Linked DNA regions of Homo sapiens: regions 1 and 3 are each linked to region 2. The links are contacts of gene promoters, found by promoter capture Hi-C in blood cells and fetal thymus (Javierre and others, 2016). All regions are on one chromosome and are shown on one strand. Each heading gives the region's core, a stretch centred on a gene start or on the middle of the fragment in contact. The rest is flanking DNA. Distances are from core to core; before and after follow the strand shown.

Region 1 (2,898 bases), core at 372-2,871, 190 kb after region 2:
CCGATGTGCTCTTCTCCTCCTCTGGCCCGCTAGTGTCTTGAGGGTTTGTATAGGCCCAGGATGGAGGCGAGGCAGTCCAGGGTGGTCTTGGTAAATGCAGCATATGGGCAGGAAATGCCTGTCCTCATCTAGGTCCGTGGGGGTGGAGCCCCGGCCAGGGATCCGCCTTTCTCTACCCAGCACTTCCCTTCCCTGCTTCCGTATCGTTTAAAGGGACCACGCTCTTCCCTTCCCAGCACTCCTGTATCATTTGTGCCTGCTTCCAAGTCTGTGAAATGGGGATAGAGGTGTGATTGTGGATAAGATGGGGTCACCCCAAGGAAGGGCTCAGCGAGGACAAGGGCACAGGGAGGGTGTGAGGACCTCATCCCATGCAGGGACTTGCAGGTGTGTGAGCCTTGGCCCTTTCTGAGGCTGAGCTGACCATCAGTGCCCTGTCTAGGGCACCATGCCTAGGCCTGGGCTGTGGTGGTGCCCACCCTAACCTGTGCAGGTGCCTCACCCTGCTGTCTCGAACAAGCTGGAAAGCTCCAGAACCACAGCCTGAGCATTGCACCCTAGGTGACCACTAGGTCCAAGGACCAGGCCAAGGGAGAGGACAGAGCTGCTGCAGGGCCACAGAGACCTGGTGTGAGGCTGGGTCATGGATGAGATTTGGGCCCTCATCTATGAAGTGGGCCTCTGGAGCCACTGTGCTCAGTGTGGGAGGATTGAACAGGACCATGTATATAAACCTCCTATCAGGACTGGGCACATAGCAGGTGCTCAGGAAAGGCACGAGTACCTGCCTCACCCTGCAGGTGGGCACAGTGCCCAGCCAGGTTTACAAGGTTGTCTGCCTGTAGCTCACTCTCACCTTGCAGCCTCTGCCATTTGGATGCGTGCCCTCAGCTTTCACGGGGGGCAGTTACAAGAAGCAGTTTTATGAGACTCATCACCGCATTTGCTGTCCAGATGCTGTTGGGGACATTATCCATTTTTCATTTCAGGGCCACCTAGATGGAGCCTCATGAGAAAAGCATCTTTCAGAGCCAAAGCTAGAAAAAGCTTTGCACCTTCCAGAGCACTGAATGACTGCTGTCTTTGACAGAGCCTTTTCCTAACACTGGTGTGCAAAGACACTGCTCTGCTCAGCTCATGGGACGGTCTCCAGGATGATGACAGTGGCCCCATACATTTTCCCCTGGGGTCTCACATATTCTCTGTGTGCCCTGATGGATAGAGAGTTGGGAAATCTTATTCTAAGGGATTGTGAAGACAACTGAACTAATCTTATTTCCCTTTTCATTTTGGCTTCCAGGAATCTCAGAGACAAATTCAAAACTTCAGACAAATCCACTCTACAGGACCTATTGGCCTGTATATTTGTGTTTTACTTTTCTCTTTGCTGTTCAGTTCTTCTCATGTATATTTACTCTTACCTGGGACCTTTTGTGTGTTTGTGTTTCACTTAGTTTTGCTATATCGTGCCTGTAGGCTGAGGTGTTCCTTCATGAAGTGAGACAGAGTTTGAGTAAATGTTTACATGTGTCAAGCATGAAACAGACCCCAAACCCCACACAGCCCACAAGTCCCAGGAGCCAACCCTATGCCTTCCCCTCCTCCTGTATTCCTCCTCCATGAGCCTCTGCATGTTCAGAACCTACCTTGGATGCCATGGCCTTTAGACAGCAAATCCTCCTAGCAAGAGCACACAGACCTACTCTCAGGGTCACACTTCTGATTCAGGATTTCAGAGTTCCAGGAGACACCTGGCCCTGGTCCTTCCTTCTAGGGAATGTCGAGGCCAAGAGGGTGGGTGGCAGGTCCCAGGTCACAGAGTGTGGTGGTGGCCTGGCCTTGAAGCTGGCTTTCCTCACTTTCACCCACACGGGTCACGCACCAGCTAATCCACCCCCAGCTTCCAAACAAGGCGATTGTCTCTGGGGTGGAAGATTCCATATAAACATGAGATTAATTTTGTATTATTATTGACTGAGTGTCAGTTGCCTTGGCTGGAGGTTTTGGGGTCAGGATGAAAACTGGATGCTTTTGCCCACCAAACCTTTCAACAATGTGGGAAACACCACCCCACAACCAGACCACCAGACCTCCCTGCGGAGCTGGCAAACACCGCCGCCAGGGCCAAGGGAAATGGCAAAGTCAGAGAGGCATGACTTGGTTTGTGAGGAGGAGAGGAAAAGGGCCTTTCAAAACAAAGCTTGGGACAGCCCATCGGGCCTCTTTCTCCTTGCCTAGCAGAATTCTTGGTGACATGTTGCCAGCGTTCAAGCACAGTGCACACACATGAATGCCTGCATACACATGCCCACATACACATGCCCACACATGTGCCCCCCCACAGGCAGGTACGCACACAGTCACGCACACACAGACGTGAGCATATGCACTCGCACACACACACACGGTCACGTGCATACATCCGTACACACATTCTTGTAAGTGCACACACACACGCTCACATGTAAGCACGCACACACACATGAACACACAAGTGCCCCCACACACAGTGCTGTCTAGTGCTAGCCTCGGTTCCTTTCTGTGCCATCGCCCATGATTAATGTGGATGCTTTCATGAATGTGTTTTCTCTCGGCGCCGGGCCTGTGCTTAGCCCGCGTAAAGCAGTGCTCTCAGGCCCAGGAGCTGGGGTCTGGTTAAAGCGGTGCCTCGCTGTCAAAAAATGTTGGCAGCTGGAGAGCAGAGTTTGCAAAGGCCAAGAGGAGACGTGTGGCAAAATGAGGGTGCACAGTGCACCCTGGGCCTCAGGGGCTTCCTGAAAACCTGCCCTTCCTCAGGCCCCAAGGGCCCACGGCACAGACCACTCCACCCCGCACCATTCCTCCCCACACTGCTCCTTCCCGCGCATTCTTGCTCCTGCCCCGGCGGGCTGTTTGCAA
Region 2 (2,756 bases), core at 36-2,535:
CACCCTGTGCCCCTTTGGAGAAAGGTGATGGTTCCATTGTCCATGTAGCTTGTGGGTATTTGAAGCAGGTTCACCCATGCATGCTGAGCACACTGATAGTCATGCCTACCTGTTCCCTTGTTTAGAAGCCAGTCTCGCCTGCAGGGAGTCCTGGATGTGCCACCTTTCGGGGCCAGGCCACAATGTGCAAGGTGCAGGCCCAGCTCCAGGGTCAGCCAGATGAGGCTTGTCACCGGGCCCCTCCCCCTTGGTCTCAGGCCTCGCAGGAGGAGATGTCCACTCCGGCAAAGACCCGGCATGGTCCTCACCTGCTCTTTGAGCCACCCTTTGGTACTTAAAGAGAGGATACCCTTTGTATGTTCACTTGATTAATGGCGAATATACAGGGGGAGACTCTCATTTGCGTATCAAACTGTCGGAGAAGACACTCATACCCTGCTTGTCTCCAGGACAAAGCCTCGGATGTCAGCCCCTCTCAGGTATGGCCTGGCTTCCATGTCCGGGAACGTGAGGTTGGCTGTGACGCTGCCCCTGGGTTCTGCCTTCGCCCTCTATGCTGGTTCTTCCTGTGGACTCCCTGGAAGCAGTGGGAGAGGAGGGACCTTTTTGTGTGCTCCAAGTTTAATGGTGGTTTGCTTTTTTAAGGATAAATCACACATTGATCTGCCTCTTCTTGGTACCAAGTCATACACAGAAGGCTTCCTGTTCCCAGCATCAGCCTTAGAAGGGGGACCTGGATGTTGGATCATTTCAAGGGGAACACAGACAGCAGTGATGGTGGACCACGGAGCACTGGCTCTGTCTATGCTGTTTTCGAGCCTGGTAGGCCAGCCCCAGGAGGGCTTCCTGGAGGTGGTATTGACCTTGGGGAAGGGGCTGAGGTGTGCTCATCAGCGCTTTTTTTTTTTGATGCTTGGGTGTTCATGATCCAGCTCGCAGTCCCCAGGCTGAATCTGTAAGAATGGTTTGCTTCTATTTGTCATTTGTGATTGCCCATGAAGGCAGCGCTGGGGATGAGCCGTGGGAGCTGTCAGCCCCGCACCAGGTGCGTGCATGTGGGAGGTCAGAGGGCGCCTGCTTCTGCCTCGATGTCTGTGCCCCGTCTCTGACTGCTGGCTTTCTGCTCACACCTAGGATGGCTGCCTGAGAATGGGACTCTTGTTCTGTGTTTGTGGAGACACTCCTTGGGCCGTGTGACTGCCGGCTTTTTACACCCCGACTGCCATGGGGGTCATCTGGACCCGAAGCCAGCTTCAGGAAGGACATTCGCAGCATCCTCAGCCCAAGGAAAGCGAACGTCCAGCTGAAGAGAGGTGAGCACCACGCCTGGGTAATGAGTCACATAACCTGCCACCTGGACCAGGCGGCTCCCGCTCCTCTCCCCTTCTTGAAGGAGAGACCACTGTGGGGAATGGGCTGTGGGTCTGCTTCCTCAGTTACTTGGGGGTACGTGGGGTTTACTACTGTTGACCCTGTGCTCTTTCTTAGCATGGCTTCATGGCCACGATGCCAGCCTCTGGCAGGGGTGGGGCAAGGGCTGGCATGGAGAATGACACTGGTGTCAACGGCTCTGTGAGATGGATGAAGGGATGGTGACCACAGGGCCTTTGCTTTGTCTAAGGTGTAAATTCATCCAGTGCCTGGGACCTCGGTGCTGAGTGCATCCTTAGGAAAACTTCCTGGAGAGGTGCCCACACTGGGAAGGAGATGGTGGTCCCACCCCAGGGAATTCCTATAGAAAGTGAGAAGCTGAGCTCTGCGTGTGCCCAGGAAGGCCCGTGGGGTGGATCTCCTTTTCAGGAACAAGTTCTAATCTGGAGTGATGCCTGGAAAAGAGGCTGATTCTGGTGAAGGGGCACTGGCGTCTGCCCCTTCCTGGCCCCTTTGGGATGGAGAGCTGACCTATGGGCACACAGCTGGCAGGTGGTGTTTGCCACCTGGTCTGCTGATCCCGCATCTCCCACCCCCTCCCCCGCCAGGATGAACCCCGGGAGAGGAGGCCGGCCCCGTGAATGATAGTGAGGAACCTGCCCAGTGCTATTGTTTGGTACTTAAAGCGAGGTTGCCCTTTGTATATTCGGTTTATTGACATGGAATATACAAGGGCAAGCTCTCTGTGAGTATCAAACCTTGTCTTGGACCCAGTCCACACTCAGCAAGGGATGCGGTATGTGTGTGCATGACCGTGTGTATCCGTTTTGTGTGTGGCAAATCGTTCACGGGTCCCCACTTCACAGAGAGGACTTCACGGGCACCTGGATGACTTTAGGGAAGGCAGTGGCCTCTGGGACATCCCCTCTCCTGGTGCAGTGTGGGCGGGGCCAAAAGCATGCACGATGTGTGTGGTCTGGGTCCCTGCTTCCTGAGCGGGAAGTCATCAGCCCGGGCCGATGGCTGGGGTGGCGCTCGTGTGGGGTAGTGGCTTTGTGGTCCCTGCTGTTACTCGGTCCGTGAGTGTGCATGTTCTGCTTGGGGTATGTGACCCGGTCCACTAACCCTCAGCATCTAATTCATCCCCAGGACCGCGCCTTGAAGACGTACCAAGTCCACCCAAGGCAGTGGCTTTCTTTTCCGTGCTAACCTTTGGTACTTGGAGAGTGGTTATCCCTGTCCTGTTCGTTTTGCTCATGTCGAATCGTACAGGGTCATCCACTTTTTCAGTATCAAGAGCGCAGACTCTGGAGCTCGATTTCCTGTGTTTGGATCCCACCTCTGACATTTACTAACCGTCCAACCTTGGGCAAGGATCTCATCGT
Region 3 (2,884 bases), core at 230-2,729, 140 kb before region 2:
GAGAGGAGCGCTGGGGGCTGCAGGAGGGTCTCTGGGCAGCTGGCGGGTGTCTCGTTCCGCAACACTCTGCACCCTGGTACATCGTCCTCCGTCCACTCAACGTGGAATGATTCTCTTCCCTCTGGATCCAGCCCCTCTAGTTCCCTTTTCACTTTGAGGCATTTGCCCCCTGTGAATCAGTTCCCTGCTACTCCAGAAAATTTCTCTCATACCCCAGGCCCCTCTGTTCTTTTAAATGGCACCCTTCACCCCCAGCCCTTCATCTTCTGCACTGTATTTTCACTTGTTGATTTAAAAATCCCTTTATTATGGGAAATTGCAAACAACACAAAAGTAGAGAAAATAGTACGTATTTTTACTGTTTACTCAATTTTCATCTTGCCATTACCCGGACACGGTTGCCGTCAAACCCTGGCCCCTCTTGTTTCATCTAAACCCTAAACTGTCCCTCTACTCCCACTGCCCAACCCCTACCCCTGGACTATTTCGAAGCAAATTTCAGACACCATCCTGTTTCCTCTGAGCATTTTTTAGTTTGTATCTCTAAATAAGAAGCTTTTGTTTCTTAAAAATAAAACCACAACACCATTATCACAAGTTAAAAAATTAATAGCCTTTCCTTAATATCATCCACCATCTATGTAGCATTCCAATATTCTTGATTGACTCATAAATTTCTTTTACAGTTGGCTTGGTCAAGTCAGTGTTCAAACTATCTCCTGCTCTTTCAAGGGGATCTGGGGCTCTAGAAGGTAAGTATGGCTACACATTTAGGGGTTGAATATCTGCCTGGACCTTAAATGAGAAACTCAACCTCAGCAAACCTCAGTGTTCTCACTGAAAATGGGGCAAGTTCTGGGTCTCTCCTTGGGTCATTGAGAGGGTTAGAGCATTAACCCCTGAAGCCCCAGCCGCATGTCTAATATGTCAGAGACACTCAGCAAACAGTAGCTGCGAGAATGATTCTTTTTCCCAGAAACGTTTAAAGGGGATTTGGGCAGGGGCAGGCAAAACATAGCTGGCTATTGTCCATAAAACAAAAGGCTCCTGGCAGTCCAGGTCCCCTGAGTGGTTAAAACAGCACATGCACTACATCCCAAAAAGGGCAGCCTACAGTCTGGGGGCTGGGTTCGCCTGGACCTCCTGGCTTGCCGTTTAGCTGCCTGACCTCAGCTGTTGTGACCTGGGACCAACAGGGGACCCCGGCAGGTGCCTATCCACTAGATGGCACTCTCTACTGTGAGTCCAGGGGGGACCACCACCCCAAACTGCTTTGGCCACTGCCCAGCCCTGGGTGCCACCGGAAGATGCACACCACTAAAACATCGCAGATAATTTCTAAAAAGCACTTCTCAACATGTCATGCAAAAGATGCGGTGGTTTATTTCCTTGCATAAATCCCAACCAGATTGCAGAAGCAGAGGGAATGAACATTTAATGACTTTGCTGAGGCCAGACACTGGTATGTCTACGCTCTCTTTAAATCCTCATCCCAGCGACATCTGATTTCCCTTCATTTTACAGATTAGAGGACTTGGAGAGGTTAGTGACTTGCTCGAGGTCGGCTAGGAAGCAAGACCCAGGATTCCAACTCAGGTCTGTGTGATTCCTCTGCAAAATGGAGAGGTGGAAGGATGGATGTCAGGTCTGATGGATGGATGGATGCCTACATCAAGATACATGCATAGATGGAGAGATGGCTGGCTACCTCATGAATGCTGGTAAGATGGATGAGTGAATTGAAGCACAGGTGGTGGAAGGAGAGAGGAATGAGAGAGGATAGTCAATTTCCCACCAAGATCAAAGGCTTACTTGATCTTTGAAGAGAGGTTCCCTCTGAATGGAGCTTGCTGGTGAAGCTCCTGCCTTCTGTTCTGCTTCTGAGCGCACTGACTGGCTCAGGTGGCTCTGGGACAACAGGTGGGATGCCAGCTTACAGGGACCAAGTCCCAGCTGTGGTGCTGGAGCTGCTCAGTGGCAACTCTCCGTCTCTGCTGCTTTCACGCAGCACTGACGAAGAGCAGGCATCCGCCTTTCCACTGGCTCTCCTGGATGACTAAGCCCTAAGCCCCAACCGCATACTCAGCCCTTCACTGGCACTTGGCATAATTTTATCTCCTCTAAATCATCACAGCCACCCTCCATGATAGCAATTTCTATTCTCAATTAAGTGAAAAGGAAACCGAAGTTTAGGAGTGGTAAGTGACTTACCCAAAATCGTATAAGGAGGAAATGCAGACCCAGGATTTGAACTCGAGTCTTCTTTCCTTCCAAACTCATCCCCTCAACCTGTTTATTTCCTTTTCTCTATGACCATGTCTGAAGAAATCTGCCTTGGGGTTGTCTCATATTGGACTCACTCTCTTGGTCTGTCAGTGAGCTGAACTTCTCATCCAATCAAATCCAAGCTTATTTCCCAAGTAATATCTCTAGTGTATTCTATTTGTAATGATCACACAGGCAAGGGCCACACATATCACTGGCATCCTACAGTACAATTAATCAAGTCAAATTAGATTCCTGGCATCTCATATTCTGACTGAATGCTAATGGTAGTAGATGTAAAAATGACTCCAGTGCAAGGCAAGGAGGGAGGGGACTGGATGTAGGGCTGAATGGCGAATCAGTAAGCCTTGCTGCAGACCTGGGTTAACATTAGCAGATAGGTTTTGAGAACCTGCTCATGGGCTAGGCCCTACTTCACACATTCTAGGTGCTAAGGTTTCAATCTCAGCTTTGCCATTGACTACTTTTGTGAGTTTGGACAAGGTATTTAATTTCTGTGCCGCGTTTTCTTCAGTTGTACCAACAGTACCTTACTAATACCGATAGTACCTTACTAATGAGTACTTGAGGATTAAATGAGGCAAACATATAAATTCCT

The links. Contacts are between HindIII fragments. The CHiCAGO score rates a contact against its expected background, and 5 or more counts as called.
Region 1: a contact is called between a fragment that was not itself captured here and the fragment with the promoter of MIR381HG in region 2, in 1 of 17 cell types (endothelial precursors). The highest score is 7.3, in endothelial precursors.
Region 3: a fragment that was not itself captured here is called in contact with the fragment with the promoter of MIR381HG in region 2 in 1 of 17 cell types (endothelial precursors); the score reaches 5.6 in endothelial precursors.

Annotation. Positions count from the first base shown.
Region 1 is chr14:101,230,214-101,233,111 of GRCh38, forward strand. No RefSeq gene overlaps it. Among named protein-coding and RNA genes, the nearest start is that of LINC02285, 110 kb to the left of the region's middle. RefSeq lists an enhancer at 2,182-2,828. The HindIII fragment of the contact is 1,153 bases long and covers 1,046-2,198 here.
Region 2 is chr14:101,043,872-101,046,627 of GRCh38, forward strand. MIR381HG (MIR381 host gene) reads left to right here and starts at 1,286. Exons shown (of 3, transcript NR_104192.1): 1 at 1,286-1,313. It overlaps MIR1185-2 (microRNA 1185-2), which reads left to right and starts at 327; the gene lies at 327-412. MIR381 (microRNA 381) reads left to right here and starts at 2,049; the gene lies at 2,049-2,123. It overlaps MIR487B (microRNA 487b), which reads left to right and starts at 2,584; the gene lies at 2,584-2,667. RefSeq lists enhancers at 1,894-2,394, 2,395-2,756. The HindIII fragment of the contact is 10,476 bases long and covers 1-2,756 here.
Region 3 is chr14:100,905,412-100,908,295 of GRCh38, forward strand. It overlaps MEG8 (maternally expressed 8, small nucleolar RNA host gene), which reads left to right. Exons shown (of 51, transcript NR_146000.1): 6 at 687-752; 7 at 1,525-1,721. Among named protein-coding and RNA genes, the nearest start is that of RTL1, 3.1 kb to the left of the region's middle. The HindIII fragment of the contact is 1,853 bases long and covers 554-2,406 here.